7 separate regions of the Homo sapiens genome follow, and all the other regions are linked to region 7. The links are contacts of gene promoters, found by promoter capture Hi-C in blood cells and fetal thymus (Javierre and others, 2016). All regions are on one chromosome and are shown on one strand. The core of a region is centred on a gene start or on the middle of the fragment in contact, and the rest is flanking DNA. Distances in the headings are between cores, read along the strand shown.

Region 1 (3,747 bases), core at 1,036-3,535, 1.3 Mb after region 7:
GTGTATTGTTTTAAATGTTATTTTGCATTCTTGTGTAGTTCAAGAGTTACTTAAAACACTGTTTTCACAGTCCCACTTTAATAAAATGTTTTTCATGTTGGCAGTGCTACTGTTTTGTTTTTACTATTTAATTTTATTGCATTCTGAGTGGGGAAATGGCATGGATATTTCCTACTTTGGGGGTAATCTAGTAGGATTTTTAAAAATGCTTAGTTTTTTTTAAGCATTTCATATGCATTTGAAAATAATGAATACTATTTCCCTATTTTATTATTATTATTATTATTTTTGAGATGGAGTCTCACTCTGTCACTCAGGTTGGAGTGTAGTGGCACGATCTCAGCTCAGTGCAACCTCCGGCTCCCGGTTTCAAGCAATCTTCCCACCTCAGCCTCCCAAGTAGCTGGGATCACAAGCATGTGCCACCAACCTGGCTACATTTTGTTTTTTTTAGTAGAGATGGAGTTTCATCATTTTGGCCAGCCTGGTCTTGAATTCCTGACCTCAACTGATCTTCCCACCTCAGCCTCCCAAACTGCTGGGATTACAGGCGTGAGCCACTGCACCCGGCCTATTTTCCCTATTTTAATATATTAAACCTTTTATTACTTATTGTCCTTCTAATTGATTTAAATTTCTGAGAGATATTTGTTCTAGTCTTCTACTTTGATTATGGATTTACCAACCGCTCAGGGTATTTATATTTTAAAAAATATATCTCAAAGCTGTATCATAAATGATTAGAAGTTCAGGAATATTTTATATTTTTGGTGGACTATAGGTTTCATCAGTATGAAATATCCAACTTTTTTCTTTTTTTACATTTTTGCCTTAGATTGGCTTTCAATGTATAGTAATGTTCTCTACATGCTTTATTTTTGTAGATTTTATATTACATATTTTTTATATATTTTTATTTTTCATAGTCTCTGTGTTTTATTTTTGATGGTTTGTTATACACAGCATTTAGCTTTACATTTTTCTAGCCTAATGTGACAGCCACTGTAACTTAGTTGAGGAATATAATATCCAAATAAACATAGTTTAATTTTCTTTTTTTCCTTGGCTTGATCACATTTCCTTTGTTTTATATTTTTTGCTGCTTAAAAAAAGGTCTTTTTTTTTCTAATGGTGCAGGAATTATACATCTTATTTCTTGTGAAAGTTATTCTTGCCTTTCTAACTCACATATTTCAAATTATATATCTCTATTAAAGTCTAAATCTGTTTGGTGTCTGTATCTTTCCTAAAAAAGATGACGGAGAGTGTTAGCACATTTTTAATTACTGAGTTTCTCCCTTTGTTCCTCCCCTTTACCTCTCATGTTGAGGTTGATATGTTTCCTTTTTGACGTTTTAAATTGCATCAACAGTCACATAGAGTCTACTAGCGTTTCCTTGCCCCATCTTGCTAATTTTTGTGGACCATGTTGTTCTGGGTTTTTTTGGGTTGATTTGTCATTATACAGTTATATATCCTTATGTAATTTTTTTCAGAAGTGTGGGGGTATAAATTTTCAGAGTCTTTGCATTTTCTAAATTGCCTGTAGTTAGCTCACCTTTTTGAAGGCAAGTTTGGCTACATATAAAATTTGAGTTTTAAAGTCTTGTATCCCCTTTTTCTGTCACATTTTTGTTCTGGCTTGCCTTGCAGCTCTAAATGTAGCACCCCAATTAATCACCCGATTATTGCATCACACTCCACTCCAGCTCCATGTATGTATTGACCCTGGGATTGGAGCATCCTAGATTTAGCTGTTTCTTTGCAGTCTTCTTGATTGGCTGCTGCTTTTTGGCTTGTGATTTATTTATTTTTCCTCTGTAGAGCAAATCCATCTACTTTTATCTTTAAGAATAATTCAAAATTGTTATTCCACCGAAGCTACTCTTCCTTATTTTCTGGCACTATTTGGCATGTATATCTCTTCTAAATTCACACACACACATACACACACACCCAGTATCATTTATGACATATGAGGTTAGAGGAAAAGTAGAAGCTTATGTTTAATCTACCATCCCAAGCCAACCCCTTTATATGGAACTTTACACATTCTAAATGCTTTCAAATACAGTACCTTATAAGGAAGGAGATGCTATTATTCTCCTTTTATAAATTAGAAAACTGAGAGGTTATAAGTCATTTTATTTATTTATTCTTTCATTTATTTCTCCATTAATCCATTGGCTAAATTTGCATCATCTGCTATGTATAAGCAGCCCTCAGTGCCAGAGACACAAAACCCCAGCTTCCAGGACCTCACAGCTGAGAGTGGAAGCAAGTGGGTAACAATAGAGACTTGTGACAATAATTTCAGCATAGGGTGGATTTCAGTTCCATGCATGTTTGAGACACGTGCTAGGTGCAGAGGAACCTGGGGAGAGGCGTCTCTATGTCAGACTTCCCAGTGGAAGTGTTGAGGAGTGTTTCCCAGCGGAAGTGTTGTCATTGATTAAAATCCATGCTGTAAATGTAGGCATGAGTTGACTGCTGTGCTCTTGGTATCTAGTAAAGTTCCTGGTCCCTGGTTGGCACTTAAAAAAAAATAAGTGAATGAACAAACAAAGCTTCCTTGGCTCTCACCGAAGCACTCCTTTTGTACTAACATATGTGATAGTCTCCACAGGCATGATTTCTTTATTTCTCCAAGCATCTCTTTGAGTAGGTACAGTGAATGTCTCCTGTCCACAAATGAAGGGGCCAAGGCTGTGGGGAGTTAAGTGTCTTGTCTAAGGAGGCTTGGATCCCAGGTTCCTCTGACTCCCGACAGGCAAGACTCCTACTGGCCCTATGGCCCCCTCATCCAGATTATTTTAGCCTCTTTTTTCAAACTCTTTCCTGCCCTCTGATCATGTTTCTACCAAGACCAAGTATCACAAACTAATGAAGAGGTATAACTGGCTGCCTCCTGGAGGAGGTATTAAGAAGCATACAGTGGCCAAAGTGGAGGAGGAATAAAAATACCTCCAGAGACCTCAATAATACCAAAATAGCTAGTCACACCATATATGTCTAAGCTTTGATACAGCCTTTCTACATGACATGTTCATTTGGAATTATATTAGACATTCAGGTTTGAATCAGGGCAGGTCACTTGAAATGTCTCAATTCAATGCAAAAGTTATAAGAAAAATAACATTTCCCCCCACACAAGTATATAGCATAGTATAAAACATTCTCAAAAACTTTGTAAAGGAAACACATTTTACAGTTTAACTCATACCTACTTCACTTCCTTCTCCCTCTCCTGTTCTCTGTTCATTATTTCCCTACTTACTAACTGGCTCTTAGTTAATATTTTCGTGGCCTCACCCCCACACCTTTTTAGTTGGTCTCTTTTTTGTGCAAATTGATTTTATTCCTATCTAAGGAGATGCTTTCATCCTTTTTTTCATGCTTTGAGGCCTCATTAGATCACTGCACTCTAATTTTGGGGGGGAGAGTTGTCATTTGCACTATATGTACAGTCTGAGCATCCTAAAGTTCTTGTTCTGAGAAAAACATCGCCATGGTGAGCGGCCCATTTTGAATTAGGAGGACTGGCTAAGGTGCTCACTTAAGCTCTTTGTAGTTTTGTTCAGTCAATTGAGTGTTTCTATGTTACATCTATCTGTCTATATGTCTGTCTATCTATCTATCTATCTATCTATCTATCTATCTATCTATCTATCTATCATCTGTCTATCTATCTACATACCTACCTACCTACCTATGTACTGAGCCCAGGCTGGAGCAGTGGTGCAATCA
Region 2 (3,820 bases), core at 7-2,506, 1.3 Mb after region 7:
GTTTTTAATGCTTTAAATTAAGGTTCATTTTTATCTTGGAATTATGCAATTGGAGATTTTGATTAGAAACTATGGCAGAATTTTTTCTCCTATAATTTATTGGACTATACCTAAAGAGTGCATTTACTGTGCACACTTAATTATAAATACAAGACTTATATGTTATTTATAAAAGTTATTTCGGGGTATTTTAAGACATGTAGAGTATGGCTTAGGATGTTTTATTGTTTTTACTATTAAGAATAATGCTTTTACTAAATAAAACTGTGTTTCTTTTATAAAAGATAATGCTCTTAATATTATGGTTTTATTTGAATTAGCAGTTTAGTCTGTGTCCCCACATTCCATTTCATTTATGGAATGCAAATAACACTAGTTACTGCATAGAAAATGAAATTAGGCTGAGTCCTTGTTCATTGCTGTGTAAATTGGGTAAAAATCAGAGAAAAAAAAATACCCTTGAGATCAATGTAAATCAATACTACTTGAGACAGATCCAGCTAAAAATTCATGAAAGGGGTCACAGTTCTGGAGGAGTTTATATAATTATCATGTAGCCTATAGTTTGTGAACTCAGGGCAAAGTTCTGAGCTGGTTGTTCTGGGACCATTCCTTGGTTCATTGAAACTACTTTGCACAGCTGTGCTTCAAACTCAACAACAGAGAGCAAAAACAATATTCACTATAAAATAAACCTCGTCCTGCCTTTCAACTTCACTGTGAACTTGCAGTCTTGAAAACAACAAAAGGGATAATCGCAATTGAGATTACAGAATCCAGATTAGATGTAATACACAGTAGGGTGGTATGGCCCAATTTTACTTACATGGGGCAAGTGGAAGTGCTGTGAATGCCAACATGTTAAGCATCATAGCCACTTATTAAGATGTTAGCTTTAAATGTCAGTCTTTGGACCCCATTTGAAATGAAGCACCTGCATTTTATTCAAAGAAATTAAGATATATTGGGGAATGCGGAGGTGAGTTGAGGGTTTTTTTTGTTTGTTTTTCTGTTTTGTTTTGTTTTTTTTTTCTGGTGGGAGAAAGTGCCATAGACAATAGAGATAAAATATCTCAAGTATTAAAAGTCTATTTTTATACACTGTATGATTCAAAATGACTGAGCAGTTTTGAAATTTTGTAGAAAGAAAGGAATATAAGGAGAATAAGAAATGATATTTGCATCTTTACAGACAACTCTGTATAGCACATTTAAGATTCTGGCAATTTCCTTACAAGTATCTGAAAATTAGGAATTATGAAGGAAACCCAGACAGATACTTAACTATAGCATTGCTACCAGGTGTCTCTTTGATATCAATGAGTTAGGAAACCTTAAGAAAAAAAGGTTAAAACATCCAGAATGATAACTTATTTTAGAATATGCTTTCAGACAAAATATTTCTTTGTTAAGAATGTTGAAAGGTTTTATTTAATTGTTCACATATATTTAGTAAATTTTTTGGTAGACTTGACCGATTAGGCTTGTTTCATAAAAGATGTGGGCTTCTGTGTATTTAGATCTTAAGTTTATTTCAAATTGGCCTTTATAAAACTTTAGTGCCTTTCTCTTAGAATTCTAGTCAACAAAATTATATTCATCAAGTGTATACATCACAGAAGTAACTGGTGATACAGAGTATAATTCCTACCATATTGTCAAATGGAGTCTATATCTCCTCAAAGGGAAAGAAACACTGACGTGAGTCAGAAGTTTTCACTCACTTGGCACTGAATCAGCTTAAAGTTCGAGGTTGAAAAATTCACAAATATTTATAGCACACCTACTAAGTGCCACGCCTCCTGGAAGGTGGACAGCAATGGCCAATGTTTCTGCCATTGGAAAGATTTGCACCGAAGTGTGTATGGCCACATGTAGTTGTACAAATCAGAGTTCATTTTGTAATGCTTTATAAGGGTCTGGTACCACTGATTCTCCTTGCAGACTAATAAACACAGAGCTTATATGACTCTTAAAAATACAGTGATAGCAAGTGCATCCTAAATTATGTAATCATGTGGTCCATGATAACAGTGTAATATATGATATACAGATGGAATCAGCCACCTGGCTTACTGTAATTGTTGTTGAGGTCCTTTGTTATGAACATATATTTCTGTTAACAATGCAACAAAATAATTTTTTAAGCTGTTTTTTTTTTTCTGTACTGCCTCAAATCTAGATAAACGGAATGTGTTGGAAAGGACAACAAATAAGAAGTTAAATATGTGGAAATGACATGGAAAGCACCTGTTTCTTCCCTTTGTTTTCTTCTACGTCATCAGGAAATAATATTTAACCATAGAATATGGTGTCCCTCTAAGAAAATGTTTATAATTGAATGTTCAAAGTAGAATATAGATTAAATAAGTAAAGATGACTTGCCAAAAAAAATTAAAGAACATTTGAAACAAACAGAAGTCTGCATCACACATAATAAGTGGCATAACAGTATCACCTCTCAAAAGTGACAATAGATGTGTCCATCTTTATGCCTTTAGCATGTTGTTGGCATTATTAGTTATTGTATTGAGAGAGTAGCCACGCTATACAAGAGAAAGGAAGGTAAATTAGATCCCTCACGCCCCCTTCTTCTGTGAATTGTATATGTTTTTGAATACACTCTCTGCCAGGACAGCAAATAAAATTTGGTTCATCCCTGATCCTCAGCAGATTATAATCTAGGTAAAGGACAGACCAGGTTCATGAAATCAAAAATAATAATTAGAACATTTGGAAACTAGGGGAACAGGTCCTCATATTGTGTGCATGTTTTATCAGTCTAAAGTAGATATAGCTCTATTGAAAATTGTTGGCTAGTAATATGCTCATTTTCCCATTTCATGAAGACTTATTCTCAAATGGAAGTTACAGCTGGCTATCGTGTTTTTCCGACAAACTCTCTTCTCTGTGGACATGATGATTTCTGTTGTTGTGGAAAGGAAGGAAATAAATCTCTTTTTGTTCCTCATTCACTCAATGAGCAAAGTGTGATTGAGCTCCTATTGTGTGCAGATTATATTGTTGGAGCACAGGACAAAGAAAGCTAAATTATCATCTTTGTTTAGAAATTTAAGATATTTGGGAGCAGCAAGGTAGATGCCTATGCCTAGTTTATTTAACAAGGCACTGAACTTTGCTGGAGAATCCTATATTCTAGAATATAGTCCTTATCTGGAAGTGACTACAGAACCTGATTCTGGATCACAGAGAGCTGCAGATCTGGTGTGATTAAGACAGTGGCCACAGATACTCCACTGAGCTTCTGTCTTGCAGCTTCTGTCTGTCTCTTCCCTGAAAATCACAGGGACCACAGATACTCCACTGAGCTTCTGTCTAGCAGCTTCTGTCTGTCTCTTCCCTGAAAATCTCAGGGACCGTGTGGAGTTTTGCTTGGTCAACTGGAGAAACAACTTTTGATTGTTTTTATGTTTTTCAGAGATTTATTTGCCAGAGATATTACATTATAATAAAAACATAAACACAGAAGTTAGGGATTGGAACAAAGGTTATATGGTCACAATTTAACTCATAGTTATTTGAAAATTATTGGTTTATAAGGAAACAGATTTAGACAAAGCTAGAACTTATGCAGGTAAGTTACAAAGCTAGAACTTACTCAGGCAGTTGCTCACGTCTGTAATTCTAGCACTTTGGGAGGCCGGGGCGGGCGGATCACGAGGTCAGGAGTTCAAGACCATCCTGGCCAACATGGTGAAACCCTGTCTCTACTAAAAATACAAAAATTAGCCAGGCGTGGTAGTGGTGCATGCTGGTAATCCCAGCCACTCAGGAGGCTGAGGCAAGAGAATTGCTTGAA
Region 3 (3,787 bases), core at 1,244-3,743, 1.3 Mb after region 7:
TTTTTTTTCCCCCCAAACCTCACAGTTGGTTGGAACAGCCACACATAGGACATAGGTAGCCACTGGGTTTTAAAGTTTCCAGTAGAGTGTCAACTATGCAAATTACATTTGGCATTTTAAAAATATATTTCTTATACTTACTATTTTCAGAACCATGATTATAAATGAAAGCAGCCAGTATAAATGCTTTTATTTTTTTTAATTGCTGTTTACTTGCTATTACACAGCAAAAATTTGCTTAGGCCACAAAGTAATCAAATTTTTAAATTCCCCACTGGTTCAATAAAATAAAACATATCAAAGAGAAAGCATGTAGGAAAAACTGCTTTTTTGTGAGCTTATTTTTTAAATATAGTTGGCACTTTAATTTACCCATTTAAAAATAACAATGAAATTTTTTTTTATGCTTCATTACTTTAAAACAAAATTATGTTGATTTTGTTCTTTATGTTTAAGCTGATAAAAATTCACCAGACACTTAATCTTGACATTGTGGCTACATCTTGCCTTCCTGCCTCTGATTAAATTTTCAAAATCCCTGCATGAGATTCACAGATACCAGTTTGAACGTTTCTGTGAGGCTAATTTCTCAGGGAAAAAATATGGATCAGTTACATCTTTGGTTAATTTTATCTAGTTCCTAATTTCTGCTAGGTCTAAGCATTTTAAATATAGTGTTGGTAAAGCATCCTTCTGTCGCTGGGTGATGGCATTATTGCAGGCAGAATTAGGAGAAAGGACATTGGCATAGGAGAAAGAGGGTTGGGGAGAAAAGTGGTCAGGAAAAAAGATCTAATAGTTGATGCAGTCTTTTAAATACCTTTCCAACTGATCTACAGGAAATTGTGCTGAAGAATCATTTGTTTCCTGTTCCACTATAAATGTGGTTTGCATTACATCCCCTGTTCGGCTTTTTTTGTTGTTGTTTTGTTTCTACTAAATTGTAGTACCACGATGGAGGCTTGAGAATAAGTGATGTCTTCCTTTATAACTTATCTTTTAATGGCTTGATCATAGTTGGATTTTAGACACTGTCATATTTCATTATATGAATTTTGTATGTGTGTGTTTCCAAGCCTACTTGAAACTTCTATTACTGCTCTGCCACTAAGAAAAACAATGCTGCAGTCTAAGTTCTTTAGAATCACTATTGTAGGTCAAATACATGGTCTACATGCTGCCATCAGGGATCTATTAAATGAATCTCTTGTTTACTCATTCAGAAAATTTAGAGATTTTAGATGTGGTTCTGGCAATTGTAAAAGTTGTTAGAATTCAGATTTACTTTTGCCTTAAGAAGAAAATACAGTGGAGACATATATTTGCTCTGCACAGCTGACCTAAATGCATGCCTTGTACCTGTGAGAATTTCAGTATGCGGACACATAAAAGATTACTGGGCCTTTTTTCCCCCTCCAATATTATCAGAGTTACAAAATAAATAATCTTTCACAGTCAACATAGTTTAAAAGTAATTTTAGTTTTAAGCTTTTTCAAGTTTTTATATGTTTAATTGCACTTTATTAGCCCTTAATACTTCAAACATAACTCTAAGATGACACAGGCTAAAGTTGTATATGATAAACATTATTGATTACTTAAAAAAAAGGGATATCTGTATATTCATAAAACATTTATAATCTATTTAGGAAATCATCATAGTCCTAAAAAAAAAGCAGTTGTTTGTATACCAGGAAAAAGAGATCAGTAGTGACAAAAGTGGAAAAGATACTTGTATAAAATTGTCTCCTTTAGTGTGAAGTGATCTACTGAAAGTTATACTTGGAATTTTCAGAAAATGTCCATAGTTGTAGGCTTTATAACATTTCAAATTCTGTAATAAACTATTTGGCACATTATCATATCATTTTAGGTATATAGATACCATGGCATTTTATTAAGCAAAACAATTTTTTTCTTCTGAAGAATACTTAAGGTGAAATTTACTGGTTTTGAGCTTGAAAGTGGTTTGAGAATTATACATGAACTCCACTTAAACTTTGGAGACTTTCCTTTTTGCAGTGCTAAAGATCCATGACTTGGTTCCAAACTACAACCTTTTATTTGCAGATGTATTTATGGCACAGTACCACATTCTGATTAGAATTTAAGAGTTCACATTTCTGATATTTCTGTCTCTAAATGCTGTGTTGCTTCTGTTTACCTAGTTTTCTTCCTATTCTTCCTAATTTCTTAAAGAAATCTGCACATATTCATTGAGGTATTTAATCCAAAAAGATTTAAAAGAGACACTACGCCTCTAACATTCTGTTTAGGAGAGTATACTACTTTAAACTCCGTTCTCCCCACCTAAAAAAGGGGGGCTAAAGAGTGGGTTTGAACACCTGAGAAGTCAGAGGTGGGAACAGTGTAGATGATGGTCTAATTTCAGGCTCAACCAAAAAAAATGCAGGCTTTGGCTGGCATCCTCCAGGGACCTAGCTCTGTGCTTTCCTAGAGACCAAATTACACTCATCTTGAGAGAGGGCATGTTGAGGTAATTGGTGGGAGAGAGTGGGGAGAGTTGAATTCCAGCTGCTTCCATTGTAGCTGTCCTGAAAATGAATAGGGGATGTTAACAATGGAGGCTAACATTTGACTTGGCTTTTTCACCTCCACAAACCTAAGGGTGAGAATTATAGAGTACTGAATGACTGCACCAATAATGATCCTGTTTAAGTGGGAATTGCTATGTTGGGAAAAACTCACACCATTTTAAAAATAGTTGATGCATTTACCAACCACAGTCCTATTACTGTAGCCCAATAAAGTTTATCCACAGTATGGAAACACTCCTTTTTTTTATTGTCAGCCATCTAGTGTGTGTATTGGATCTTCACCTCTTTGGTTACCATTTTAAAATGCTCCTACTGAAAGACATTTGGAAGGCACCAGAATCCCATCTCCAAGAAGGGAAGCAAGATACAAGTGCCCTGTACTCCCTTTCTCCTAGAATGTGTGGTCTTTTTTTTTTTTTAAGGAGAATAAATACTGTATGACTCAATAGCTTTTCTAACGAATAAAACAAATTAAATTGATGTTACATGCGTATTTAAACCCTATCCAGTTAAGTACTGATGTGATTAAAATAATCAAATGTATTACTTAAAAAATTAAAAAGGATAAATTCTGCACCCCATTATTTTATTGACTTTTAAATATAAATTGCAGAAATGTTTACATTCCTAATGGCATTATTAAGCTAAACTGACAAATCAGAGGAAAAAGTTGATTGGCCAGCACATTATTATTTCTGCACCTGTTATTACAGAAGTGGAGGCTCAGCATTAAAGGAGCTGGATGGATGCTGTTTTCTTAGGCTTCCTTTGTGTGATGTGGGGGTTGGGATAAATGTGTAACAAGTGTAGTTTCACTTTGTAGTGCCTTTTTGTGTGTTGATGTGATTAAAAGACTACAGTGTTTTTCATGTCGCTTTGAAATTAATATGCAAATAATATGGGATATTAGGGCTTCCCTCTACCTGCTGCACTAAGCTTCCCTAAGCCAAATGGGGTGGGGATTGGTGTCAACTTTTTTCATACAAGTTGTTTAGTTGCAAATATCGCCAACGTTTTATCTCTACTCTGTGAATTTGTAAGGGGGGGAGGGAAATGTCAAACTCATTGAAGTAGGATTGAAGATCTGGGATGAAAATACTTTAAATTTTTATTTTCTACTTATATATCAGCCAGGATGTTAGGAGACCTTGAAAACATTTTGAAAAAGTTGTGTAACATTACCAAGGCTTTGGTATAAGATTATACTTTTCTTCTGGTTGAGTTCTTCC
Region 4 (3,655 bases), core at 1,156-3,655, 1.2 Mb after region 7:
TGTGTAGAAGAGATATAGGAAATAATTAAACCTGTTGGATTTGGGGTTTTTGATGCTATTGAACTGTCTGGTTTTTAAAGTTTTTTTCCCCCTTATATTCTCAAGAGGTAGATATCCTTGAAATGATATCTTCATGCAAAATAGTGTTTTATTTCATCTATGACCAAAAAATAATTCAGGAGCTAGGAAACCTTAGCTCCTTAAAAGTAAAAGACTGTATTTTGGGAAAGAACATTGTTACTGGAATTTATACTGTGATGACACTGGTTGGTAGACACACTAGAAGCTTTGAGGAGTGTGTGTGTGTGTCTTTGTGTGTCTGTGTTTGTGTCTTTGTGTGTCTGTGTTTGTATATGTTTGTATATTAGTATGATATATATAGAAGTACATATTTATTTTATAAAATACTGGTAGTGTTTAATTTGTGCATACTCTTTAGGGGAGAGGGTATTGAAATATTTTTCTGGGTTGGAAAAGTTTTTGTACTTACATGCAAGGCTGCTCTAAAATCAAGCACCATATTGAAACATCACAAATATACACTAAGCAAGGGACAGATGCACAAGGAATTTAAGCAGAGTTTTTCTAAATGGCAAATAATTAGAGGGGAACAGATGCCTATGGGCAGCAAAGGATGAAATGAGGTACCAGGAATTTTAAAAGGGAGATGGAAATACAAATGTAGAATGCAGTTGCTCTCAAGGATGTTTAAGCCTAGAGGGTGTGCTTGCCCAAAGTTCACTCTTTTTGTGGGTATTGACTTAAATTTGGTTCTCTCTTCACCTGTCTTCCCCAAAGAAGTAGATGATGCTAATCATTCTGAAGTGGAACAGATTTTCTGTGGAACCTCAGTTTTGGATGATCTGTGGCTGCATCTCTTTCTTCTGCCTCCCTAGGGTCTTGTCCTTTTATAGGACTGCCAGGATATGACATTTCACAACCATGTCAGTTCTCACTTATTTATTATTTATACCCCATATCCTTCCAAAAGGGTTTTTAGGTAGCCTACCAATAAAAGACACGTATGAAAATATATGTGTGTGTGTGTGTGTATATATATATATATATATAAAATTTTTTGTCTTGGTTTGTGTTTTAGGATGGACATGTCCCTTCTTTAGAAACAAGTCTGCTGTAAAATGGGTTGTATCCATCTCAGAGCTATTCTGCGTAGTCTTGATGTGGAAAAGGAAACAAATCTCCAAGAATAAAGTAGAGCACTAGGCATTTCCCATCTTCCTGTAGAGTGGTAGTTTAAACAGCAGGGGCACTGAGCAGAGCGATTGAGCCACCCAGCAAAGCTGAGCTGTAGCACCTGATCATTATCCCTCAGGTTTAAGATTTACCTGTTGTGCTCATTGTAACAAAAGAAATGAAATCTCTGTAATTATATTGGAAGGGGGAGGAGATCGTGTTTTAGTTCCTTTGATCTTGAGCTAGAATAGGCTCTGCTTTTGGAAATTTAATTTGAAAGAGCCCAACGTACACATCTGCTTTTTGTACTGCAATTTCTATTGAGCTTGAAAATAGAAATTTATTAATGCAAATGTGTAGAGTCTGTTCCTTGAGGAAAAGATATACTCATTCAAAACACAAGGTGATCCCTTCCTACATAGCTATGGAAGATGTTAATATGTTTTCTGTTTTTTTTTTTCCTTGACTTCAGATATGAGGTTCCTTGCTAACAAGGACTAAGCATAAAAATTATAGGATCCATTGGGGAATGGAAAGATTCATTCAATACTTAAAAGTTTCCAAAGGACAAATTCATTGGTGAAGAGCTGGGGGAAGCATACTGAATCCTCAAAAGAAAAAAAAAAAGCCAAAAACAAGTGCATCATCAAACCATTCTGAAAATATGTTTGAATTGATGATAGGGCCCATGCTAAGAGACAAAGCTTTCATTTCAACGAATCCAATCTGCCTAGTGTTGTGTAAAATTGCCTTTGCCTGTAAATGGAATGGCATGCAGATTTTAGGTAGGACACTTTCTCACCCAACTTAGCCTGTACTCTATTTCATTTTTTCCACCATTACATGAAGCTTCACATAAATGACAACTTGACTTAATCCTTAAAGTGGCTGGATTGTGTGGTCTATTTTGATTAAACTTTTTCTTGTTCTTAGTGTAAATTTTCAGTAATGCCTAAAATGTCATGAGCATTTTGGGACATAAATCCTTTAAGCTATTTTGCAGTCATATAGTTGTTCTTTGGAGGGTTTGAGTGCTTTCCTAAACTCCTTCTCATCTCTAAATAGGCAAAATAAATTATAAATTGTCGAGAACATTCAATCACTCTTCGGATGAGCAGGCATCTCCTAAAGCTGGGGAAAGTATCCATTTTCAATATTTTGAGTAAATATAGTTGATTCTTTATAATATTTGTACTGTATCAAAAGATCTCAAAAACTGTTATAAATTACCTAGACTTAAGGAAGAAGACATGATTAAATAATTCATTGGATCAATAAAACCAATCTGCTTTTTTCTGATGTGGTGTGATGAAGTTTTTTTTCAAATGGGGTAGGTGGGCCTCAGTGCTGTGTATTATCCTTTTGATTCTATTGGTTACTGTCTTTCTCTGCTCCCCCCTTAGTTGTTGTTTGATATTTTTGTGCTTTTTGTTTGTTTTGTTTTAAAGAAAGGAAAGCTGCAAGCCATAGAAAGTTAGGCTGTGAGTTAGGAATTCTGAGTTTAAAGCAGGGAGCCTGTCCCTAACTTTGTGTTTAAGTTGGTGTTTCAGTTATGTTGCCAGTGTAAGCTTGTGACCCTTACAAATGTACAATTTCATTTGGGTTCAGTGATTCCTGGATGAGTTTGTGATATAGGATGCCAAAGGCTGTGGAATTTCTTTAAGACACAAAATCTTGAGACAGAGCTGATTCCTTGGAAGCTTGTGGGTAACTAGAGTCTCATGTTAACTAATCTGGAGGGGGCTAAGAAAAGTCTTCCTACCCACTTCCAATTAATTAATTTCTAACATTTCCATCTAATCATGACTTTGTCGAGTGACACACATCTTTTTTCCTCACAGGCAAGAAACTCACACACAAAATTTCTATTTCTAATGGCAGACAGTTGGGGTGCCGCAGCCAAGCAGTCACCCTTAAAAATTAATGAGCGTAATGATGGTTAGAAAAGCGATTCTGATGGTGGTTGGAGAGGGAGGGGCCATGGGGATGGCAGAAGGAGGAAGACCGGACTCCTCATAAGTGACAATGATGTGAGCCCCTGTCCTCATCTCCCCTCCCATCCCCCCTTCCGCCCAGTCACCACCCCTTCCATCCTCCTCTCTTTACAGGAGCCAAAGCAGATAGAAAGACAGGGCGATTATGAAGACGTCAGTTGGAGTGTAGGCAGGCGAGAGGGGCGCAGCGCCCCAGATGAGGTCCGGGGGGAGCTGAGGAGGGTCACTCATGGACGACCGTGTGTGTGTGTCTGACAGACTGTGAAATGGTGCGTTGTTGCACGGCTGCGCTGCACCTGGGCCCTTCATCTGTGATTGATTGGTTTGGTCATGTGTAATGGTCCCATCTGCTCTGTGTTGTTTTTCTTTTTTTACTTATAAACACCGTTCCCAGAGGCTGAGAGAGGATGAGCTATGTTTTGTCATCTTCACTTACACTTTAGCTCAAAAAAGTGGTCAAGTAGGTA
Region 5 (3,883 bases), core at 445-2,944, 1.3 Mb after region 7:
TTTCCTTAATAGATTTGACTTCTACTTCTGACTTGTTACAGACACAATGTGCATGATATGTTTAATGTAGAAATAAAAAACACTGACAAAAAACCTTTAAAAATGTTTGCTAAATAATAATTTCAGTAATTTGTATTTCTCTGCAGCACAGCAGTTTTTTAAGTCCCTGATTTGCAAGATATCTTGGTCTTTGTAAGTTACCCAAGTCCTCTTTTGTTGAAACCAAGCATAGGACAGAAATAAAAATAAATTATAAAGGTGTACTCTTGGACCTTCAGGAATCAGGAAAGAAGACTGTCCAAAGACTGACCTTCAATTTTGAGCTTTGAAGTTCAAAAGTGGACAGGTGGAAATACTGTGTTCTTCATTGCCCTTTGGTGCGAGATATATTCTAGGTTGCAGAGTAAGTGCCAACAGCAGCAAAATTATCGCCCCCCTCCTGCTACTGTAGTAAGTCAGCAATGGCCCTTCTGTGGTCAGAATGGCACATTCAGCAGCAACTATTCGACAGGGATTTACAGAAACTTCCCCATGGCTGTTAGGAATCTTATTCAGCAGTGTCTTTGAAAACCCGATTCTGTGCAGAATTAGCTATGTAGAAATGACCTAGGTTGTGATAAAAGGTATTTTAAACAAATCTAACTTGTAATTTCACTCAATGTGTATTTTGCATTTAATGCCACAAAGTCTGGTAGATACCTACACATATATTTTGCATTCATAAGTTTTATAGTGGTTCAGAATTTTTTTCCATATTAACATTTTAAAAAATCCTGGCTTTATAGAGTCAGTTCACCATACAAAGCCACTATACATCACTTAGGTTTGTGATGAAAGAATGGAATTGCAGCTGTGTGAGTACTAGAATACCCAAACATGAATTAGACTCACAAGCATTTGGCAATAGTTCAGAAAAAGAGCTTAATCTGGTTTCATCTGAGACTGCTTTTCTCTGTTCTGCAACATCCCCCCAAGATGTTGTGTCTGATACCGGATCACAACGTAATGGGAGTGACGCAGAATCGAGAAAGCCCTGAGAAACCAGGGGCACATTTGCTTTTCTCCAGAGATTTTCTTTCTCCTACTTCTTTTTTCCCCTCTTCCAGTTTCCAACTCTGAAATTCAAGGTCATTCACCTATTAGATGCATTAATTATAAGCCAAAAAAGCAGTATTCATCGTACTCTGATCTCAGTCATATCTATAATTAAGTGTAAATATAATCTTCCTTTTTAGAAATGTACCACCCACCCATTACATTTAAAGTGCTGACTGAAATGAAATAATAGTTCAGAGCAAGATGATTTTAGTTTAACTAGAAAAAAGTTGATAATTTAAGCTTCAAGCAGTGAGTTCTATTTTTGATTACCATTCAGTTATAAATCTAATTTGAGATATATGCTGCTTTTCTGTTACTCAAGTTTAATTCATGGTTTGCTTTCTTGGTTGTATAAGCAAAGTTCAGTGGTTGATCAAGGCTGTTAAGAAGCTCCCCTGAAAAGGAATGGGGGCAGGGTTGAGAATGTGTTCGAAAGACATTCTGAGACCTATATCTGATGTAAAACAAACAAATCCGATGTAAAACAAACAACAAAATTTTAATTGAAAAAGACACTCACAGAGTGCTGTATTTGGGGATTTGAATGGCCAAGTTAGGAATGGCCATTTGCAGGGGAATTGGCTGCAGAGGGTGAACCCCAAAACATTCCAACCTGGTTGATAAAGTCAGTGTGTTTTATTCTTTGGTTACAGTATTTTAGGTCTTTTGGGAAAAAAAATTAGGAGCGAGTAAGGGGAAGGGCTTGTCTCATCACACTGTGGACAGTTAAGCAAAATGCTAAACTATGGGTTTAAGATTTACAGGTTAGCTCTGCCAGATGCCACATCTGCCTCCAGTGTTTCCTGGCAGATTCGGGCAGCCTACTACTGGGACCCAGCATAACCGCAGAACATGAGCTTGCACAATGTGAAAAACCTAAAACCATTATAATCCTATTTAAGGCCAGGATGAATTTGCCCATTTTGAAAGTAGATGTAGTTTTCAAGCTTAACTTTTATTAAGCAGAAACTTGTCTTCAGAGCTATATCTATATATGCAGGTAAATTCATAATATAAACAAATACCTTATCCATTTTGTGCAAAATTTAATTTACTTTAAATCAAACGCCATTCACTTTTTAAAATTCATAAACTCAGGTTTTTCAGCCAGTGGAAAATTTATCTTTCTCATTGCTACAGAGAGTTAAGTATCTGACGTAAAGGCCAGACAATAGTAAATGGTCATTGTTCGCTTTATAAGTATACTCTACAATAAGAACACATATATTTTTATCTTCATTTTCCCTAAGGAGGTGTTTAGGGCCCCCTTAAATGTGAGGAAATGTTTATTTTTGTTGCTTTAGAAGAATGATTCTATTGTCCAAGTGAGAAAGAAATAGGAACAAACAGGTCTAAGGAGAAAGAAACAGGAATGTGCTTTGTGAAAAAAATAAAGATTAACAGGAACCACTAAAGGTTTGTAAGTGCTATCTGGTCCTAGTGCTATGTTACTGCACATAGTCCTTGCGCCTGCATATGTAAGAGTTGGATGCGTGATTTATTATGACTGGCCCATGAAATTATTTTCTTTTAAGTTAACAACAATAAGGTCAACCACAGCCTGTAGCTGTTTTGTAGTTATTTTATATTTTTCACAGCTCTATTGTGAATGCTGCTAAAAGACAGTATAGCAAGTGTGTGTTTTTAGGTTGACCCCTTGAATGCATTTAATTTCTTGAGAGTGAAAACCTTTGCCACCAGGACCAAGAGGAATTAACCAATGGTTAAACTCATTTAAAAACACAAGCAAGCATTTCAACATATTTGCTTAGCCGTTTTCTGAATATTTAATATACTTCTAGAGAAAGAAAAATGAAGAAATAGGGGTGATTTGTGTCTAGAATACAAAGTTATTTTCAAACTCCTCTTTCCAATGAAATGAAGACTCATTCGTAGATTTACCAAACTGTAAGGAGGTTGTGATTTCAAATCATTCACAGCTTTATTGATGGAAATTTCAAAGAAAACTTGGACACAGACTTCACTGTAACTTTCTTTGTTAATAAGAAATGCGAAGAGTGAAATTTAGGTTGAGATTCAAAAACTTTTGAATGCCACTCCTAAATGATAAATTATTTGTTACTAGATTTCTGATTTATGCAAAACTTTATTATAATAAGCCTTATGTTTTAGTTTGTCATTGTGTAGTGTTTTAATATGTCTCATAAGTTCAAAAGAGGCAATAGTTGAGCATGCAGATGTCAGATTTTTATCTGATAAATCTGGTTTTATCAGGTATTTATGTGGTAAACATTAAGATACTAGCAATGAGTTTATTACTCAAAATGTGCTTTCAATCTGAAATCTCATCCTTGAAGTTGTATTTTGAAGTAATGTTTATTACATATCTCTTGAAAAAGTCTTAAACTGGAATCAGTAAAGGCGAGCTTGTCAGTAGCTGATTAGTCCTTTATATATGACTCATCCAACACTCAGAAAAACCCCTTGGAATAGAGAGGTTCTCTTTATGATATTTAGCTATATGGCGGTGGAAAGGGGAGGTTTGAATTTTTGATTTTCCAGCTTATGGGTCATATTTGACCAACTGCTTTCACTAGAAGACATGCCACTTTGTTGAGCTATTTAGGAATCAAAAAGACTGTCTTAATTTAAAACAAGGACCCTTTGTTTTAGTTGGTGACTGCCTTGTGAAATTTTTCAGTTCTCAGCGGGTTAACCAGGGAACAGGGGCAGAGTCATAATTGGCCTATTTAGAGTATTTTGCATGTGAATAGTGTGTTAGTGAAGCATCCCTAAGTCTGTTGTGAGTGACATGGTGATTAGA
Region 6 (3,724 bases), core at 809-3,308, 1.2 Mb after region 7:
CAAATGTTCCAAGTGAATTTTAAGCAGAAAATCAACATCAAGACCATAGCTAATTTTTAATGGATAATTTACACAAAAGATAGTTTCTTTTCTAGAAACTGAGGTGTCCTTTTAAAATGGCTGCTTTTAGTCTTTAAAAAAAATGATAGGAATCGCGATTTTATGTTTGAGAAGGTGCGTGGGCTTTATCCACAGTGCCTGATTATTTTGCTCCCAAACAGGGGTTCTGGCTCTGAGGGCAGATTTATAGTTGAATTGGGGAACAAAAAGATGTAATAAAGTTAAAAGCTTACACTATCAGAATGAAATGTGTTTGTTCATGATCTCTGGACCGATCTATTTGATGGTAAAAGTGGATGCTACAGATGAAATCTTTACAAGGAGCATAATCCTTAAAAAAAAAAAAAAAAAAAAAAAGTCCACCTCCCAGCCTCCTGCTGGCTGTGCTGCCTCTTTGGTACCTCGCAGACTTCGACAGAGCCCTGGACGGGTGCCCATTGATGTCATGGAAACACTCAAATTACTGAGAATGATTCATGTCTATGCTGGTCTCTTATCCTCCCCCACACAAACAGGAGTAGATTTTTAACCCTGACAACTTGTAATTTGCAGTGGGTTTATTTTTGTATCTGGATAAATATTTTTTAACAAGCAAAATTAAGATTAAGCAGTCTGTATCTGATATGATAGTAAAGAATGCTGGGTTCCATGTAGCCAAGAGTACTTTGGGGACTCTGCAGCGTGAATTCATATTCTTCTCCTCCTCCTCTCCCTCCTGCCTCTTTCTTTTCCTACCTCTTGCTCTTTGCATTCCACTCTTCCTCTCTTTGTTTTTCTCCTACTTATTCTCTCTCTCCTTTTAAAATCCTGCCCTTTTATCTTTAAAATAATGGAAGGAGTAGCCCAACTTATATCTATAAGTGAGGCAAATCCTGGCAGAAAGATTCCTCCCTCCTGTTCTGTGTGTTGGAGTCAAGTTGGGAAATAATGCTGAGTGGTGAAATTCTACAGGGGATAGCTTCAGGAATTCCTTCTAGAGAAAAAAATAGATGCTTTTTCTTCCTTAAACTGTATTTTACAATTTGGATTTTTAGAAATTACCAAAACAGGACACTAGATGTTCAGTTTCTTAGGAAGTCAGAGCAGATTCTACTTTATCCATCTTTCTGTCTTTCTGCCTGCCTCCTTACCTGCCCAGCTTCCTGCCTGCCTATCTACCTGTTAAACAAGTGAATATTACATCAAAGTAAGTGATGTAATGGTGATATTGAAGCATTCTTAGATGCAAGAGCTTAAGGAAGGACACGCGTCCTTTGATAGCTCATGAAGGTCGAGCCTTTTCTGTTAGTAATATTTATAGAGAGAAGTTAAAGGGTATAAGTAGCTTAAATTTGATGTACACAGATGAGTAAATATGTCTTTGTGACCATTCACACTGCTGATACAAGTATAAATTTATCTTTTCTTCAGTGCAAAATCCTCATACAATGGAAGTTATTCTGTTAGATCTTCTAAGACTGACAGTCTGTGCGATGGTGTCTTGTTTCACTGAAATTGAAACTGATATGGGGCATTGATTTTATACTTTGCGCTGAGCGCTAGACCAGAAATGGGGCGGAGGTGTTTTCCCAACTTTAAGATTCATTAAAATCAGTAGAAAAGTTAATACTGGGAAACGGGGTTAATTTTAAGACTTAGGTTTGGCTTTCTTTGAAAACCACCATCCATTTTATATATGTAATGACTTGGATACAGGATACCCTTTTGACCACATAGAAAAATTTATGGATATAAATGTATCAAAGATACATTCTTTGTGTGGGGTCAGGAAGGCATACTCTAATAACATTGCCATTGCCATTGACCTAAAAGATAAAAAGACTACTGTTACTTTTAGCATTCGTGTTGAGTTGAGAGGGGAAAACTTGGGGGTTGTAAACTTCAGAAGGAAATCTATTCAGCCTCTCAAAATACAAGTTTAGAGTTTTCCTGTTGGAAAAAGGAATACTGTAGTCCTATGTATCAAGTACAATTACTGTAAAGCTCCAGTCTTGACGAAAGAAGTATCCTTTAGACTTGCGTGGGGTGGGGTCTTAGGCACCTGCCTGCCTCTTTTAGCCCCTTTTAATGTTCTGGTATGGACAGATTTCTACAATGATTCTCCACATGTCACTATCTGGACTCTACTGCTTAGATCTCTTGTAATGTGATTTCATTATCCTCCCTAATGATTATTGGGGTTAAACTTTAAAAAGAAACAAATGAACACCCTTGATTTTATTCTTAGATGTGGCCGAATAGCATCGAAGGGTCTATAGATCTCTGTAGAGCAGTCTACAGATAAAAATTGGGTTGTTAGAATTGGAACAAGACATTCACATTCCATGATCCCTTGTCCTGCTGGGTCTATTGGTGGAATCTGAACTTGGGTTCAGAGTAGGCAATTTTTCAAAAGCCCTGTTTCCCAAATGTAAATTCCATCATCATCTTGATCATGATGGGGTTCACTCCTGGGAAAGGGAGTTTTTAAAAAAGAGAGAGAGAGAGAGACTCAGAATTTTGAATAGTTTCTTTGCTAAATTCACCATCTGGAGAGCCTGTGATTGATTAGTTTTGGCCTCACTATTAAGTGTCAATATAATCAATGGGAATTACTAGGCTAGGGTCATTACATAGATAATTTGCCTGCTGTGTAAATAAAAATGAAATTGTTTAAATTTTGTGCAAGAGAAAGTGAAAATAAGGAGTTACGATTTGTTTGTTAGAGAAAGTGGAGGCCATTGGAATGACAGTTTTTGGAAGTGTGGAGCAGTTTGGCTAAGAATAGGAATGAAGGATATTTTTTTCCAGTTTATCATAGCCAGAGTGAGGAAGTGTTATTCCCTCTCTTGCTTGCATACATTGCCAGTAGTGCCTACTTTACGTATGTAAACATCGGGGAAGAGCAGTAGATGTCTGTTACCTGGAGGAGATTTTTTTTTAAGGAAAAACACAATTTACACTTTTTTGTCGTTTCTCTTGGCAGGTAAAACAGAAAGGGGCTCATACTCATCTTATGGGAGAGAATCAAACTTACAGGGTTGCCACCAGGTAAGTGAGAATCTCTGTTGCGGAAGGGTTGAGAGGATTAACCTGGTAAATCAGTTTGTTTTCTAAATTAGATGATGCATTTTAAACTGTGACACCAAAGATGCACCGGCAAGTCAGATGATGGCTCTCTCTTTAAGTAATGAAATAACACAGAGCTTAGAACTAATAAACACCTCATCTTTAGATCGCTGCTGTATCAGAACTACATTCATGGGCTTGTTTTTATTTTTTAATCCATCAGCCGGTACCAGTGGCACTGTTTGCAAACCAGCAATGTCGGTGAAAGTGGTTCTATTAAAAGAGTTTATTTGCAATTAAGAACTTAAGAATTTCTTACGCAGGAAATACTTCGCGGAGTCATGTGTCAGACCCTGGGTTTCGGGTGGCTATTGCCCTAAATTATAGTTTTCATAGGGGCTGTATGATGTTGTGTGAAAACAGGGTTGTATTGAGGGATAAAAATGTCTGTGAAAATATGATTTGTTGTCCCTTTTTGTTTCTGAATTGTTTTTGGCTGGAAGTCAAGGCCAGCAGGCTAACAGCAAAGCCGTCTCAAGGGAAGCATGCGTGAGCTAGAAAAATAAGAGTACTTTAATTAAATAATAAAATGCCAGTGTAATACAAAGGTATAGCA
Region 7 (4,118 bases), core at 40-2,539:
TCGTTTTCCCAATTTATAATAACTAATATGTATTGTTCTGGATGGAACTAGACAGTTTTTTATTCTTTGTAATAATGAGGGCATTTCAACACATTATGTTCACTTTTAAGCTGACCTTCATACAGCCACGAGTTTGTTTATAAAGCAAGAAGCAGAGTCAAACTAAAATTTTTGTTTTACAAAATGTCAAAAACTCAGTTAATTTCTTTCATACAACAGGCAATTCCTGCAACCTTGCCCATAAAATCCTAAGACATAAACACCTGAAAGAGTCAGTTTGCCTTTTTTTGTCTCATGGCAAATATTACAGTGAGAGGAAGCTATAGCTGCCACTGACCGAACCCTAAATTCAGCAGCATCAACAATATCAATGCAGCCTGTCATGCGACGGTAGGTTCCCTAGTTTCAGACTATCTAACCCAGCAAATTCTGCCTCAAAAAGTGACATACTAAGTGGGTAAAAAACATAAAACAGCAATTTTTGAATCAAAGTTAGGGTAGTGCTGACTTCAAACATAGCTTCAGAACGCTGGGACCCATCACTAAGTGAATGGGAGTGACTGGCATCCGCTCAGACAAGTACTAGGGCAAAGGGATAAGAACTGGCAGATGGCATCTCAAAAATGAAATTCTAACAGTGGTGTCAGTACCTTGGGCATGGGCAAAAATAGTACCAACAGGAAAGGAAAGACTATATGAACCCCAAAAGCAAGCACATCGCCCAAAATTGCTGTCAATAACCACCAACGATCATCACCAATCACCTGATCCCGTTTAGATTGCACCTGGGAACCAGGCAGTCCCACCTCAAGACCAAAGCAACTGTCACAAGTAGCAAATATCACTCACCAGGCAAGGGAGCCACAAAGACCCCCGGCTGGCCCCCACGCTCTTGGTAACGGCGCCTACTTTTGGGCCCGACCTGCAGGCTTGCAGCCGCAGCGATCTGACAGCTAGCACCGCCCCCGGCTAGAGCGGGTTTGTGACCTTTGACCCCTGACCCCTGACCTCCACGGTGCAGGAACATCCCGCCCTGTGGTTTCCCATGGAGAAGCTTGAAAGCCCCCTTACCTGTCACAGCTTCATCTCATGCCGCGATGTAGCCTATCAGACCGCCGGTGGGCGCCCCAGCCAAGGAGGACAAGGATAGGGCGGAACTACGGAGGATGCGGGGTGCGTAGATCCTGCTGGGATAATCCGTGGGGCGGCAAGCGCTATACAGCCGCCGTCTCCCCAGTGATACTGCAAGGTGCCGGTGCCGCCGCCGCCGCCACTGCAGTAAATCAGCTGACACCAGCCCCAACTGCCGTGACTTTCGCTGCAACTGTCGCAAAAATGAGGGGGCGGGAAAGACTCACCATTTCCCTACTTGCAAGGCCTAAGCCGGCGCCGAGAGAGCCAGCCGCGTTACGATGGAGACCGAAAGTGGAGAAAAGGCCAGCTGTGGGCAAGGAGTGCACGGCCGCCATCTTGGTTGTGGGAAGTCTCGTCTAGGCTGTCCTCTCTCCAGTTGGGAGGACCAAGATGGAGCGAAGGATGAAGTAGCAAGTGCACGTCTTTCTTGGGAGCAGGATGTTGCGCAAGTTTACACTTCTGACCCCATCACACTGCTTCCCACTGAGATGCAAGAGGTAGGGAATTCCCTAAACACTGGAAAGTATGTTGGATGCTGGAAAGCTAAAAAGAATGACAAATGTCCCCCAAGATAGATAAGCTATAGTATAGTGCAGGATGAGAAATGCCAAATAAGGAGCAAGGAAGAAAAGAGATGAATTATTTCTAGGTTGGGGTAAGGAAGGATAATCACATTAGGTCATATGGAAGTCTAGAAAAATTGGTCAGATTTGGAATAATAATTGGGAAAGGAAAACAACTTTGTCACCAGCATTGAAATGTAAAACATGAATATATGCAATAAATAGAAAGTTAAATTTGGAAGAAATACAAGGGACGTGAAGTAGGTGAAGTGGGAAAATGTGGTATCAGGGCTTAGCTGTTTCTGCTCCGTGAGCGGCTCCTTTAACAGGCAGTCTATGCCCTGGAGCTCTCTTGTGGGTTGATAGAGACTTCATCACATTCGGCCTAGACCAGGTAATAAAAAAGTAACATGGAAAAATAGAATAATGTAGATAACAAGAGGCTTTTAGTGGCCATATAAGCTTTTTGGTCTTTATTCCAAAGACAATGAAAAGTAATTGAAGACTTTTGACTAATAAATAGTGTAGCACTTTTCCTAACCACATGGTATTCAGGTTTTTAAAATTGCTTTACAACAAATTATCACAGTCTTAGTGTCTTAGTGGCTTAAAGCAACACATATGTATTGCCTCACATTCCATGGGCAAGGAGGTCAGGAACAGGTTAGCTGAGTCCTGTGCTCATGCTCTCACAAGGCTACAAGTGGATGTCAGCCAAACTGCAATTCTCATCTGGAGGCTCAACTAGGGAAGAATCTGATTCCAAACTCCTGTCAGCTCATTCAGTTCCTTGTGGCTGTCTGACTAGGGGCCCTGGCTTCTTACTGGCTCTGAACTGGAAGTGGCCATCAGGTCCTAGCAGCCACCCACAGTTCCTTACCACATGGGCCTTACTAAAGGCTCTCTCGCAACATGGCAGCATACTCCTTCAAAGCTAGCAAGGAGAATCTCTCTACTGAGCACAAGAAAGGAGTCACACAGATATAGATACAGCCATGGATATGGACATGGACATAGATATGGAAATGGATGTAGATGATAACCTAAATTAGGGAGTGACAGCCATCACCTTTGCCATATATTATTGGTTAAAGTAAGTCACGGGTTTTATCTGTACTCAAGGAGAAAGGATTATACAAGAGTGTGACTTATCGGGGTCACTTAAGATGGGCCAGCCACAAATATTAATTTGGCAGCAATGTGCCATGTAAATCAGGTGGGAAATACAGGGAAGCAAGGAGACAAGTGAGATGTCGTCATTGTTGTTGTAACCAAAAATGTATGGTTATCACTGCAAAAGAATCATAAATGAGACCCACAGGATAAAATCGGGAATTTCACCATTTTAGAGGCATATATATATATATTTTTTGAGATGGAGTCTTGCCCTGTCACCCAGGCTGGAGTACAATGGCACCATCTCAGCTCACTGCAACATCCACCTCCTGGGTTCACGCAATCCTCCTTCCTCGGCCTCCCGAGTAGCTGGGATTGCAGGTGCACACCATCACACCTGGCTAATTTTTTTTATTTTTAGTAGAGATGGGGTTTCACTCTATTGGCCAGACTGGTCCCGAACTCCTGGCCTCAAGATTGGCCTGTCTCGGCCTCCCAAAGTGTTGGGATTACAGGCGTGAGCCACCACACCCAGCTTTAGTGGCATTTTTAAAACTTAAGTACTACTCTGTCCTTAAAATTTAGTAGCAGGCTGGGCACAGTGGCTCACGCCTGTAATCCCAGCACTTTAGGAGGCCGAGGCAGGCAGATCGCAAGGTTGGGGGTTTGAGAATTTAGTAGCAAATTACCCTACAGCACACCAGTACCTTCTGGACTTCTTAAGCTCCAGGTTAGCTCTGCAAAAGGCAAGGAGGCTTGTTCTTCCATTTTACAAATTTCAAAAGAGGGAGATAGCCCAGTGGCCTAACAGTGACTTTATTGCTACTGTTATTTTCGGATCACTTCATGCATGCTGTTATTTTTTTCTCATCGAGGTTTTCAGTCGTAGTTTGGTATTCCCCATGGTGCCTAGTACTCAGCTAATACTCCCCTTTCCTTCCTGGACCCTCTCCCAGAAAAGTCCTATCATGGTCGATGGCTTTATTTTAATACCAAATGGCAAAGAGGCTTAATAAGGGTTTTTTGCATGATTTTTGTGTAATTAAAACTGTTTTGTGCAATTAAGAGATTCCTTTTGCACTTTCTCACATGACATAAAAGTCAAGTGTTGATACTTCTCTTTTTTTCCTGTCTCATGACTTCCATGATTCAAACCATTTCTTTCCAAGTAACAAAATGTCTTTTTCTAGAAACATCTCTAGTTACTCCATACTCAGGCCTTTTAGGAAGGAGTGAAGGTGATAAGGTTTAGGGTGTTAAGCCTCCTCACAAATGAGGGTTTCACAGCCCCCCTCACCAAACCAG

What was found. Contacts are between HindIII fragments. The CHiCAGO score rates a contact against its expected background, and 5 or more counts as called.
Region 1: a contact is called between a fragment that was not itself captured here and the fragment with the promoter of WDR7 in region 7, in 2 of 17 cell types (naive B cells and M2 macrophages). The highest score is 8.7, in naive B cells.
Region 2: a contact is called between a fragment that was not itself captured here and the fragment with the promoter of WDR7 in region 7, in 4 of 17 cell types (monocytes, M1 macrophages, M0 macrophages and 1 more). The highest score is 18.1, in monocytes.
Region 3: a fragment that was not itself captured here is called in contact with the fragment with the promoter of WDR7 in region 7 in 3 of 17 cell types (monocytes, fetal thymus and total B cells); the score reaches 8.8 in monocytes.
Region 4: a contact is called between a fragment that was not itself captured here and the fragment with the promoter of WDR7 in region 7, in 1 of 17 cell types (monocytes). The highest score is 11.7, in monocytes.
Region 5: a fragment that was not itself captured here is called in contact with the fragment with the promoter of WDR7 in region 7 in 2 of 17 cell types (naive B cells and M0 macrophages); the score reaches 5.8 in naive B cells.
Region 6: a fragment that was not itself captured here is called in contact with the fragment with the promoter of WDR7 in region 7 in 1 of 17 cell types (erythroblasts); the score reaches 5.6 in erythroblasts.

The regions. Positions count from the first base shown.
Region 1 is chr18:55,370,356-55,374,102 of GRCh38, reverse strand. All of the region lies in intron 6 of TCF4 (transcription factor 4), which reads left to right. Among named protein-coding and RNA genes, the nearest start is that of TCF4-AS1, 80 kb to the left of the region's middle. The HindIII fragment of the contact is 568 bases long and covers 2,002-2,569 here.
Region 2 is chr18:55,330,662-55,334,481 of GRCh38, reverse strand. The region is part of intron 8 of TCF4 (transcription factor 4); the gene reads left to right. Among named protein-coding and RNA genes, the nearest start is that of TCF4-AS1, 120 kb to the left of the region's middle. The HindIII fragment of the contact is 8,028 bases long and covers 1-3,820 here.
Region 3 is chr18:55,313,759-55,317,545 of GRCh38, reverse strand. All of the region lies in intron 8 of TCF4 (transcription factor 4), which reads left to right. Among named protein-coding and RNA genes, the nearest start is that of TCF4-AS1, 140 kb to the left of the region's middle. The HindIII fragment of the contact is 2,006 bases long and covers 1,491-3,496 here.
Region 4 is chr18:55,423,516-55,427,170 of GRCh38, reverse strand. All of the region lies in intron 5 of TCF4 (transcription factor 4), which reads left to right. Among named protein-coding and RNA genes, the nearest start is that of TCF4-AS1, 27 kb to the left of the region's middle. RefSeq lists an enhancer at 3,323-3,655. The HindIII fragment of the contact is 719 bases long and covers 2,046-2,764 here.
Region 5 is chr18:55,352,040-55,355,922 of GRCh38, reverse strand. The region is part of intron 6 of TCF4 (transcription factor 4); the gene reads left to right. Among named protein-coding and RNA genes, the nearest start is that of TCF4-AS1, 99 kb to the left of the region's middle. RefSeq lists enhancers at 3,384-3,883, 3,110-3,883. The HindIII fragment of the contact is 707 bases long and covers 1,341-2,047 here.
Region 6 is chr18:55,402,820-55,406,543 of GRCh38, reverse strand. It overlaps TCF4 (transcription factor 4), which reads left to right. Exons shown (of 20, transcript NM_001083962.2): 6 at 3,026-3,090. Among named protein-coding and RNA genes, the nearest start is that of TCF4-AS1, 48 kb to the left of the region's middle. The HindIII fragment of the contact is 3,535 bases long and covers 291-3,724 here.
Region 7 is chr18:56,648,530-56,652,647 of GRCh38, reverse strand. WDR7 (WD repeat domain 7) reads right to left here and starts at 1,289. Exons shown (of 28, transcript NM_015285.3): 1 at 1,072-1,289. RefSeq lists an enhancer at 1,169-1,558. The HindIII fragment of the contact is 1,105 bases long and covers 1,057-2,161 here.